Regions from separate parts of the Homo sapiens genome. Here regions 1, 2 and 4 are each linked to region 3. Evidence: promoter capture Hi-C in 16 types of primary human blood cells and fetal thymus (Javierre and others, 2016). All regions are on one chromosome and are shown on one strand. Each heading gives the region's core, a stretch centred on a gene start or on the middle of the fragment in contact. The rest is flanking DNA. Distances are from core to core; before and after follow the strand shown.

The links. The method cuts DNA at HindIII sites, captures the fragments that hold promoters and counts their contacts. A CHiCAGO score of 5 or more calls a contact.
Region 1: a fragment that was not itself captured here is called in contact with the fragment with the promoter of FLI1 in region 3 in 14 of 17 cell types (activated CD4 T cells, total CD8 T cells, total CD4 T cells and 11 more); the score reaches 24.1 in activated CD4 T cells.
Region 2: a fragment that was not itself captured here is called in contact with the fragment with the promoter of FLI1 in region 3 in 10 of 17 cell types (total CD8 T cells, activated CD4 T cells, total CD4 T cells and 7 more); the score reaches 15.0 in total CD8 T cells.
Region 4: a contact is called between a fragment that was not itself captured here and the fragment with the promoter of FLI1 in region 3, in 1 of 17 cell types (total CD4 T cells). The highest score is 5.3, in total CD4 T cells.

The regions. Positions count from the first base shown.
Region 1 is chr11:128,167,075-128,169,830 of GRCh38, reverse strand. LINC02725 (long intergenic non-protein coding RNA 2725) reads right to left here. Exons shown (of 6, transcript NR_183639.1): 3 at 2,576-2,659; 4 at 485-618. Among named protein-coding and RNA genes, the nearest start is that of LINC02098, 40 kb to the left of the region's middle. The HindIII fragment of the contact is 2,885 bases long and covers 1-2,756 here.
Region 2 is chr11:128,149,545-128,152,344 of GRCh38, reverse strand. The region is part of intron 2 of LINC02725 (long intergenic non-protein coding RNA 2725); the gene reads right to left. Among named protein-coding and RNA genes, the nearest start is that of LINC02725, 55 kb to the right of the region's middle. The HindIII fragment of the contact is 191 bases long and covers 1,237-1,427 here.
Region 3 is chr11:128,692,617-128,695,715 of GRCh38, reverse strand. It overlaps FLI1 (Fli-1 proto-oncogene, ETS transcription factor), which reads right to left and starts at 1,644. Exons shown (of 9, transcript NM_002017.5): 1 at 1,440-1,644. The coding sequence starts at 1,457. SENCR (smooth muscle and endothelial cell enriched migration/differentiation-associated lncRNA) reads left to right here. Exons shown (of 3, transcript NR_038908.1): 2 at 2,325-3,061. RefSeq lists silencers at 613-742, 793-1,012, 1,053-1,102, 1,323-1,692, 2,376-2,515 and 1 more and a cis regulatory region at 1,424-2,156. The HindIII fragment of the contact is 9,137 bases long and covers 1-3,099 here.
Region 4 is chr11:128,019,452-128,022,372 of GRCh38, reverse strand. No RefSeq gene overlaps it. Among named protein-coding and RNA genes, the nearest start is that of LINC02725, 75 kb to the left of the region's middle. RefSeq lists a silencer at 2,175-2,373. The HindIII fragment of the contact is 1,257 bases long and covers 836-2,092 here.

The sequences.
Region 1 (2,756 bases), core at 75-2,574, 530 kb after region 3:
CTGTCACTTCCACCTTGAGGTCTCAGACAATTTAACCTTATTAGTCCCAGATTGCTAGCATGCACAATGAGTACTTCAGATTTGGTAACTGCCGAAGTCTTTTCTGTTGTCCGATCCGTGAAGTTGCGGCTCTTGAGTAAAGCTCATCAAGGCAGACTTTCTGAGAAATTCCCAATGCAACAGGTTTCAAGTAATTAACCAGGAAAGACTCTTCCAGAAGTGGTAGCTCAGCACATACTGAGAGTAAATACCATGTTAGTGATGAAGAGATTGGAATTTCTGCAAAGAATTGATTCTGATCTTGAGCCTCTTACTAGTTTGGAGAGATCAAAATATTGGACACATTGCCTATTGTTATTTACTTGAGATTAGTTAATGGAAATCAGAGAATTTAGGGGCACATAATGCTGCCACATGAATAACTGACTTGATTCTTTTATAAACCATTCAGATTGAATTCCATGAAAAGCAAATTCCTACCTACTTTTCCAAGGATTGAATCCAGAGTGTTTTCTTAGACGGTGTAACCGGGGTGCACGGGGCAGTGAGCTAAGGTGCAATCTTCCGTCTGTGTTGTGCTTTACACTTGTTCTCACTATGCTTCAGTTTAAAAGGGACCTGAAATCCAGGAAACAGAAGACTGTGGTCCCCTGAGTATCCAGCTTTCCACTCAGTATCTCTTCGTATCTAATTGGCATGCCAAAGTTTACATGGCATCAACAAAACCCTTGGTTGCCCCACATATCCAGAATTTACCTCCACAAGTATTTGCTATTTAAGTAAATGCCATCATTATCCACTCAATTTCTTAGAACAAAAATTTACAAGTCATTCTGGATTCCTTGATTTCCCTCAATTCCCATTATCCAATCATCAGTCTGCTATTCCATTTCCATTAAAATGTATTCTGAAACCAACTACTTTTTACTCTCTCTACCGCAACCACCCTTTCCCCAGATACTGTGATCTTTTAGCTAATGTTATCACCTCTGCAGTAGCTTTTCTGCCTCCACATTTGCTCCCTTACATAGGATCTGTTCTACACGCAGCAGCCAGAGAAATCATTCTAAACTACAAATCAGATCCTCCTATGCCCATTTAAAAGTCTCCAGTGGCTTCTAAGTATGTTTTGAACCTGACTCTTCCCATGGCCTGGTCATTCTAACATTATCTGGCTTTGCCAATGCACCCAATTCATCTCTCTCTCTTCCTTCTTGTTTCTCTGGTTTACTTAGTTTTATCCATGGTCTTTTGTGATGTCCCCCCATTTTTTTTTCAGAAATGTCATCTTGCTCTGTCACCCGGAACACAGTGACGTTTCTTAAAAAAAAAAAGACATCACAAAAGGATGGAGTGCAGTGCTATGGTCATAACTCACTGCATCCTCAAGCTCCTGGGCTCACACAATCCTCCTGCCTCAGCCTCTGGTGTAGCTGGGACACAGGTGCATGCTACTCACCTGTCCTGATGTCTTCAACATACCAAAGAAATTTCTCATCTCATTACATTTGTACTTATGGTTCCTTCTGTGTCAAATGCTCCTCTTACATAGCTGGCTTCTCATCATTTAGGTTTCACCTTCATGAGGCTCCTCCTCATGAAGAGCTTCTCTGATGCTCCTCCTCATGAAGAGCTGCTCTGATGCTCTCTAAAACAACTGGTCCTGTTACAGTCAATGTCTGTCAAAATCACCCCGTTTCATCTTCTTCATAACACTTATCAGTACCTTAATGATCTTATTTCTTGGTTTATATATTTATATATTGTCTGGCTCTTTCCACTATAATGCAATCTCTTTGAAGATGGAGATTCTGCCTTTCTTATCAAATGTTGTGTTCCACACTTTTAGAACATGTTTATCATGTCTCAAGTCATATAATAATATACATTACTAAATATTTGTTAATTAACTGACTAACCAAGTTTTCCTATTGTTATATATGAGCAATAAAGAAATAGAAATAAAACAGCTAATTAATGAGGGTTAGATAGTCTCCAAAACAATATAGAACTATTTGGTTTAGAAAGGAAACTTGTAATAGATGAATAGAGACTAAATGTACACAAGACCCTTTCACATTGTCTCCTTTTTCTGTTTGACAAGGCTTTATAGAGATATTTACAAGAGTGAGAACATCCTAGATAGATGGATAGATTGATAGACAGACCTAGTAATTACCTAGCAGTAGCAGCCAGTATTAATATCAGTATCAGTGTCAGTATTTACTGATCCTGCTAATATCCTAGAGTGTCAGTATCCTTTTCTGATAATCAGTATCAAATTATGGATATTAGCTATTAATAATAATTATTATCGGTATCAGTGTCAACTATCAGTATCAATAATCAGTAATTACCCAACATCAGTATCAATATCAGCCAGGGTCCCAAAAGGAAATGGACAGCACATTAAAATGAAGTAATTTGCAGACAATTTAATAAAGAGATTATTTACAAGGATACGGGGGGTGGGTGGTTAGAAACAATAGGAGGGACTCTGATGCTAGAGATAGGAGGGATGATTCTCACTGCTACGCTGGAGAGTGACGAAGTATTTACCTGACAAAACACTTACACTTCTCCAGAGAGGAGTGTAGACAGAGGGCCTCCTGACAGCAGCTGCAGCCTTCCGCAGAAGATCACACTAACCCAGTAGGACCTGCCAGAAAGGGAATTAGGGAAATAATTGTCTCAACTTCTCTCTTCCTCCACTTGCTCCGTCTCCCAGAGGCTGACTGTCCCACAAGCCGAGCTCC
Region 2 (2,800 bases), core at 83-2,582, 540 kb after region 3:
CCAGGCTCAAGAGCTCCTCTTGCCCCAGCCTCCCGAGTTGCCAGAATCACAGGCATGCACCACCAGGCCCAGATAATTTAATTTTTTGTAGATATGGGGTCCCACTATGTTGTCCAGGCTATTCTTGAACTCCTGGACTCAAGTGATCCTCCTGCCTCAGCCTTCCAAAGTGCTAGAATCTAAGCTGTGTTAGATCTAAACTAAATAGGTCATGGACCTACTGTGGGCTCTCTAGCATGAAAACAAAGAGGTTAGATTTAAATCTGCAGCCCTTGTATTTCATTGCCACTGCTAATCTGCCAAGCTGACTGCCTTGTGATCTATCCTCCTGTTTAGGGCTTGACAGTGCTTCTGTTGACTCTGCTTATTTATCCTTCTTTTGGCCCTGACTGAGCCATTTGACTTGCTGGTGTGCAGTTGCAGCTGGAGGGCAGTTTTCTGTGGCCCATTTGTCAGTGGTTCAGAGAATTTAACATCCCTCAGTGCAATGACAGATTTTGCCACCTCACCTGGAAATAATAGAAAACTGTTTCCACAGACCCCATAAGCACATAAGGAAAGGCCATTGAAAGCTTATGATGAAAGTGAAGGTGAATATTTGAAAGACCTAAGAATCCTCAAAAAAAAAAAAAAAAAAAGGATGTAGAGCTGTGGTTCTCAAACTTGGATGCACACTAGAATCATCTGGGGAGCTGGGGAGATAGCCCAGGCCCCAACCTAGATCAGTGGTTTGCCCACTTTAGCACTCATCTGAGGCCCTCAGACAGCTTGTTAGAACTGGCTGATAGGCTCCACCTGCAGAGTATCTGGTTCAGCAGGTCTGTGGTGAGCTCTGAGGATTTTAAAGACTAACAAGTTCCCAGGTGAGGCTGCTGATCTGGGGATTTTACTTTAATAAACACTTCCCTACACTAATTACGTCAAAATTTCTGGGTCCAAGATCCAGACATCAGCACTTTGTAAAGCTCCGTAGGTGATTCCAATGTGTAGCCAAATTTGAGAAGTGCGGAGAGAGAGCAACTCAGATACCAGAACTAGTAGCTATGACAGACCTTTCCCATTTCTAATCTTCTCAGGAGGATGCATCCTAAATGATTTGATCATTAAGTGACTAGGTATCTGCTTCTGTGGAATGTGCAATTTAACTCGAAGGACACTACAAACTCACCACCCCAAAAATATTCCTTCCTATGCTTCTTTCATCCTCTCCCCTTTCCTTGACTAGTTACCTAAGCTTCATGGGTCACCTATGCCTTAATCCCTGTGTCTTAAAGACATTGCAAAGGTCAGCCTGAGCTCCCTGATGGATGCTGGTAGGAGTGAGTTCAGAACCCAGCTGTATGTTCCCACCTCCCCTCCCTGTGCTCTAAAGACACTTCTGGATGAGAGAAGAGAATAGCAGGGTAAAATACCACCAGTCACAAGCTTGTTCTTATGGTTTTCAGTAGCCCCAATCACCCTCAGAGAACCAGAATCTCTGGTCATGGGGAAACTTTGCATTAAGCAGGGAATAAATTCTCACCCTCTGGAGTTAGTGGGATGATACGTGGTAAGATGAACTCAGTAGATGTTAACCTGATATTTAATCATGAGTTACAGCGAGTTAATATTAGTTTATCTGGTATATGACCAAGCTCATTATACACATGTTCTTATTCAATTCTCACAGCAACCTTATAAGACAGACATTAGGTTTCTATTTTCTAGAAGGGGGCACTAAGTTTCAGTGAGATGAAATAGTTAGCCAAAGGTCATAAAGCTGGGCTTCCTACTCACATCCGACCTGCTATACCATTGAGTGTTAGTGAATCCTGTTCAAAGCACAAGATAGCGGGGAATTGAGCAGGGAGCTATGGCATGGCGGGTACTGAAGCTAGAGCTATTTTTGTTAGAAAAACTGTTAACCAGGTTCAGGAAGCAAGGCCAGGAATGAAAAGGAGGGCACTGCTCAGAAGACCATGCTTCTGACTTCATACTTTGGCTTCAGGCCACCTTCCTCCACTGCAATAGTACCTGTGCAATGAAAAATCGAATACAACGAAATTTGTAAACATATTCTCACTAGCTAAAGATGTTGCTAACATGATGTAGCAGTAATGTATGTATATACACGTGGATGGGATTGTAAAATCTAGAAACATGTGCAAATGCTGGTTTGTGGCTTGTTCTTTTGAAAATTCTGTTTCTATTTCAACCTAAAAATTTTTTCATGTTGGCAAATATTTTTCTAAGGTATGATTTTTAGTGAGTGTATTTTATTATATTATATGCATGTGTTATATTTAACCAATTTCCTATTATAGGAGTTTAGTTTTTATCCATTTGTCCTTTTTATAAAACAAAGTTATGACAAAGATTATTTACACAAATATCAAATTCTACATTCGTACTTTTTATGTAAAATTCCTCTAAGTTGAATTTGTGGGTGTTATGTATGCATATTTTTAAGGTTTTTTGATACCTGTTATTAAATTGCTCTGTAGAAAGTTTGTTGTTGTTGTTAAAGCAGTTTCCCACCTGTGTTGTTAGAGGGTGCCTATTGTTGCCAACCTTGAAAACACTGGATATTCACACTTTTAAATATCAATTGTGTAGGTAAAAATGGTGCTTCATTAGAATTTTTTAAATCAGCATCACATTCTTTGAGATAATTAAAAAACAAATTTAACCACATAGGCTTTCTCTATTAGTCATAGGTTTATCAACCCCATTGTAATGACGAATCTTTGTTAAATATAATTTAGACACGGTAACCACTGAGCCACACTTTCCCTTTATGCTAACTTCTATCTTACCTCCT
Region 3 (3,099 bases), core at 395-2,894:
GGTTTGAGGAACCCAGGCTCTTATAGGCTCTTATAGCTCCCTTTAACCCATCACAGTCAGTTATCTCATCTCCAGATTTGCAAGTTCCTTCGGTTGGTGTCTTTTACCTAAGTCAGCATATTTCAAACTTTCATAAAAAAAACTTAGAAAATAAAAACCACGACCCCACCCAGAAGATAAAAATCTCTTGAATTCTCTGAGCCCAACATCTTAGCCTTCTCTTGCTGAGCCCTGAGCAGGGAGTCGATTCTTTCGGGTTCTGGGGAATGGCGGGCTCTGCCAGTCCCCACCTCGCCAGCCTAATAGTTTTTCCAGACAGACTCCCGCTTGGTGTTGCGCGGCAGCCTCGAAGCTAACCCCTGGTCCCATTCATTCCCCTAGGTCCTCTAAGGCCCGTCACGTTAGGGGGTGTCCCTCCTCTCTGCTCCTGGCCCTACTTGGCGAACCCTTTCAGAGACAGCAGTCAACTTTTCTGAAGTGAGACGCGAACCCAAACCCTCACCTTTCCGCCTGGGTTGCACTTTGCAACCTAGACCCAGGCTTGGCGGCGGCGGCTGGGGTGGGAATGGCCGGGCGGGCGCGGGGCGCGGGCTCACAGCCGGCCCCTGCAACGGAGGCGGCTCCGAAGGACGCAGGACCCTTTCGGAGGCGACAGCTCCAGGAGCCCTGGTCCTGGAGCCGGCGCACGCCTAGGCGCGAAGGGCGGGGGCTCGGGGCGCTAGGGATCTGTGCGGACGGGGGCTGGGGAAGGTTCCCCGCCGGAGAGGCGGCGAGGCCGGCCCAGGAGTCCCGCGGAGCCGGCGGCTCTCCAGCGCCTAGAGCCGGGCGACTGAGTGCCGAGAGGAAGGGAAAGCGCTGACATGTAAACAGGGGCTTCCATCTGGAGGAGCCCGCTCAGATAGATCCCCCGACACACTCACTTGCACCCCTACCCTCGTGCAACGAGGCCACTTACCCACCCCAGGGCCCACCAGGCAGGGACCCGAGCCCGGGCGACTGCAGCCCCCGCCCCCGCCGTGTTCCGCCTCTGCGGAGAGGAAGCCCAGTGCCTAGCGCTGGGGCCACGGGAGCCCCGGGTGTCGGTGGGAGTGGTGGACCCCGAGGTCTCTCGCCCTTGACTCCGTTCCGTACCCTGGGGTCCCCCGGTTTCCCGCCGTCCCCTCCTGCAGCCCCGGCGGGCAGCGAGGTGGGAGGGGGGCCGGGGCTCCACTTTGGGGGCTGGGATTTCGGGGGAGGGTCGCCCTCAATGCGGGCGCCTGGCCGGCTGGCCCGCGAGTAGGACTCGCCACCCGAGCGCCGGAGGAGCCGGCGCGAAGCCGGGGCGCGGAGGGAAGGGAGAGAGGCCACGTCTTCCGGGACGCGGGCCCCGCACCTACCCGCCCGCCGCTTCGCCTCCCCGGCCGGTCCCCGCCGCCCGCGTCCGTTGCCCCGCCGCTTACCTTAATAGTCCCGTCCATTTGGCCAAGTCTGCAGCCGAGCCCCCCAATATTCCACACATTGACCCGGTTACAGCCTGACCTCGCAGCCCCTTCGGATTAGCCCGGCGCGGCCTCCCTGGCGCCCTGGGCCCTCCCTGCGTGCCCCCTGCGAGCGCCCTGCCCTCACTCCCCTGTGCACGTTTGTTGTTGTAGCGGAGCGAAAGAGACAGTTAACCGGATGAAACTTTTTTTTCAGCTAATTTTGGGAAGTGACTTCACTTTGCGAATCGGGGAGGAAGTCCTATCTCTCTCTCTCTCTCTCTCTCTCTCTCTCTCTCTCTCTCTCTCTCTCTCTCGCCTCGAGCTCTCCTCTCTCTTCTCTCCCCTCTGCTCTCCCTCGTCTTCCCTCCCCCCCCACACCCCCTCTTCCTCCCCTGCTGGTCCTGCTTTTCGCATCACACACTATATAAATATACGCGGAGATGCCCAGACACATTCATGCGCTGCGCACACAGGATACTTGCTCCTGGGAGATAAGAGCTAGCCGGGAACAATGACGGGGTCCACGCCCAGCGTCCGCGCCCTGATTCCCGAAGTCTGAACCTCCCCCCATCACCTTCCCCCAAAATCCAAAGCCAAAGACCTTTGGCTTCTTTGCTTTTCCTGAGGCGGTTGGCCGAAGGTGGCCCTCCTGACTCATTCACTTTCCGTTTCTTCCCACAGATACGTTCATTAATGCTTTTTCCAGCCGGAGACAAACTTTTTGGGGGTGGGGTAGGGGGGGTATGGAGGGAGAGTTGGCTAGGGCTGCGGGTAACCCAGCGCCTACTGCCGGGGAAGACTCGGACGAAAACCGAGGCAAACCAACCATTAAAAAGTGCATCCAATAAGAATTTTTCCACTCAGGCCCTCCGCTGCCGAGACGCGGCAGACTCCCAGAGCGGCTCACCCACTCATCGAAGCGGATTCTGGGCGGTTTCGGGCTGACCCGCGCTGTCAGGGCGCGGACTCCATTCCGGGCGCATTGTTAGGAGAAGGGGCCCCTCGGGGCGGCGCGCCTCGACCCTGGGCTCCCGGTGCCCGCAGAGGGCGGAGATCCGCGGCGCCCTAGGCCACCTATCCGCATCTTCTCGAGCCAAACCCCCAGCGCTTACCCGGACCCGACGGCCCAAGCACTGACTCCCAGGCAAGAGTCGCCCTTCCTGGTCCCCAGGGAACTGACACTACCGCGGGACGTTCCCTCTAGGACAGTCAGCAGGTCCCAGGAGCGCAGCACGCAACAGCGCAGAGCAGACCCAGACTTTTCCCGGGGTGAGACCCGGAGGCCCGCGCTCTGGACCGTCCTCCCTACCCAGCCTGGAGGCCGGCGTTCCCCGGCCCAACCCGGAGACCTCCCCGCCTCCCTCCTGGGCCGCCGCGCGCCCCAGTTGGAGCAGCCTCGAGGGGCTGGGCCCTTTCGGCCGGACTCCCTTCTCCCGGACATCCAAAACAGGTTACCTTGTCCACGCTCTCCGGACCACGCTTTGGACTTGCTCACTTTTATTTAAGAGTCCGACGGGGGAAAGAGGGAAAAAAAATCCAGAGGAGATCCAAGTCAATTGGAAGAAAAAATTTCAAAAGGGTGTCCACAGAGGCGAAAAAAGGTGACTTATTAATTCTTTATTTCTTCAGGAGCAATTGA
Region 4 (2,921 bases), core at 215-2,714, 670 kb after region 3:
TCACATTTTAGTCTCATTGTGATCATAATAAACATCACTTCCTTTCACATATAAAACTGTGAGCACTGCATCTACTGTCAAAAAAATGTGTTTCAAGAGCAACATGCTCAGTGCATAAGGCAGGCAGCAGGGAGGAAACTAGAAATGACTCAGCTATAGTCTTTGACAGCAGTGAACTGATTTTGCAGTGGATGAATAAGCCCCTGGCTTCAAATATGAGAATAGGTTTCCTCGAATCAGGTCCAATGCCTCTCTTTGGCCAGTCGACTGCCCCGAAGCAGGCTGGGTGCATCCTGTCATTCCAGGGCCCAGGAACCAAATTCTGAGGGAGGGTAGCAGCTCTCCAACCTACTATCAACACCTGATGGGGTGCTCAGAATGCACCCCATCAGGTGGCTGATGGAAGCACTACAAGATGGTCTAATTCTACCTAGAACTTATATTAACTTCCTTTTTGACTGTTTCCCTCCCAGTTCCCTTGATGTTCCTTGGAGCCATGAGGGGCAAAGAGGTGGCCCCTTGCTGCCCACTAGGTGGTAGTGGAATCCCACCTCTGTCACACTCAGCACTTTCTGCTCTCTCAGCCACCAAAGTCTGATGACAAAACTTCTAATCTGCTGCTGGGAATTTCAGGTTAACTGACTAAGTCACTTTAATTTTCTTGGGAAAATAGTTGCAGTCACACAAAAGATAAGAAGAGGCTCCTGAGCCCCCGACACCTGCAGTGTGAGGGCAGCCCAGCCTTTCACAGCCCCAGTACAGAGAGAAACTTCTTCTCCTGCTGCCCAGCAGACACACATGCCCCCACCCGCAACCCCACAGTCAGGTCAAAGCTTGCTCCTGGCACAATCCGTGTTTACTTCCACGTCTCCAAACCTGGAAGGATGGCATACTTTGTACCTGCTGATGTCAGCCAATGACCTCTCAGCCTCTCTGCCTTCCTCGCCTGCTGCTGCAGGGAAGGCAGGTTGCAAGGGCAGAGCTGATCATAAATTCTAGTGATCTTCTGTAAGATCATTTGCAGCATCAGACTCTTTAATAGACTCTGCTTATTCCTGCGGTGTAGGCTCAAAAAATTTAAGTAGTAAAAATAAATAAAAATCTCATGTCAGTTAAACATAGAGATATGGGCTTTAAAAAAAATCTTTCCCCTCCTCCTTATGTTTTTTCTTCTATGAATGTATTTATGTAACCTCTGCAGCTAAGATTTTTGAAGGGCAAACTTTCCCTAGACAGGGACAATTTTTAGTTTTAGTTAATGCAGTGTACAGGATAAGCAATGGTGCCCTGTGCAGAGTTAGCGCCCATAAATGTCAGTTGATGCTGCCACTACCCTCTGGAAGTTTCATAGAAGAGCTCCTTTCTCTTTGTGACTTCAACGTCCTTCACCTACAGGATCTCATTTTCCACTTACTGTGATAACAAAGGGCCATGGATTATTATCTTCAATTTACAGGTAGGAACAATGTGTCAGGGAAAGATGATCTGCCCAAGAATAGAGAGCAAGTCAGTGATCAGCTGACCATTTCTCTGTTCTTGCAGCAGCCCTCAATGTCTCTTTCAGTGAAGTGCTAACCTGTCACCCCCAAACACTGTACTCATAGAAAGTAGCATCAGGATCTCTTGAAACAGACTGGAGGCCTGGACCATGCACCACCTGCTCTCTGCATGGCCGCTGTTCTCTCCTCTTGTCTCTTTTCACTGCTTCCTAGTCACCAACAGGGCAGATAATCAATGCAGTCTTCTGGTAGATCAATAGCCAACAATATTTCATTACTGCCGGAATCAGGTTGTTCCAGCAGTCTATTGCCGATTTCCCCCAAGTTAGAACATTTACAGGATGGAGCATGGTTCGTATCCAAGCTCTCCACACAATTGACCTGAAACTCCAAGCCTATGTCAGCCTTTGGGCCTGGGAGTTATAAAGCTGGCCTGTAGAGTAATAGTGGCAAAGGACTCAACATTGTGCAATTGCAGTAAGTTCCACCAGCTGATACTCTATTCTCCTTCAAGGCTCCACTCATGTCACCTAGGAGAGACCTTCTGTTAATCTTCCACTTCAGTTGATATTAATTGATTACTCCTTGAAGCTTACATAACATTTAGTGAATATTTCTGTTTTGAAACACTCCGCTTTTGTGTGTGTGTGTGGGTGTGTGTGTGGCAGAGTCTCGCTCTGTCGCCCAGGCTGGAGTGCAGTGGTGTGAACTTGGCTCACTGCAAGCTCTGCCTCCCAGGTTCATGCCATTCTCCTGCCTCAGCCTCCCCAGAAGCTGGGACTACAGGCGCCCGCCACCACGCCTGGCTAATTTTTTTTGTATTTTTAGTAGAGACGGGGTTTCACCGTTTTAGCTAGGATGGTCTGGATCTCCTGACCTCGTGATCTGTCCGTCTCGGCCTCCCAAAGTGCTGGCATTACAGGTGTGAGCCACCGCGTCCAGCCGGCGAAACATCTCTTATAATGCCTTATAGTAGAGGTATTTACCCAAAGTTCTTTTGCGTTGCTCCCAATGTTAGAATTCTGATGTCCTAAGGAATATGTACATATCATATTTACTTTGTATTATCTCTGGAGTCAGCACTTTGCTTCTCCCTAGGACAATGTTATAGGACAATGGACGGCACATATCCATAGAAAAGCTTCATAAACGCTTGTTGGATGGAATTAATTATCTGAACTAGATGCATAGCTTTTAGCCATATCTAATTCGTTCTGAATTTGGCCAGATTAATCTTCCTAAAACAACACTGTTTTCATGTAATTTCCCTACTAAAAAAAGTTCTGAATATTCCTCACTGCCTAATAGGACTAAGTTTAAACAAGGGGACCTAGTATGTAAGTCAACTTAGCTCATCCCTGTTCTATTTTCCAATGGCCTATTTTACAATTTTCCAGTTGCATCTCCTGCTATCTCTGACGT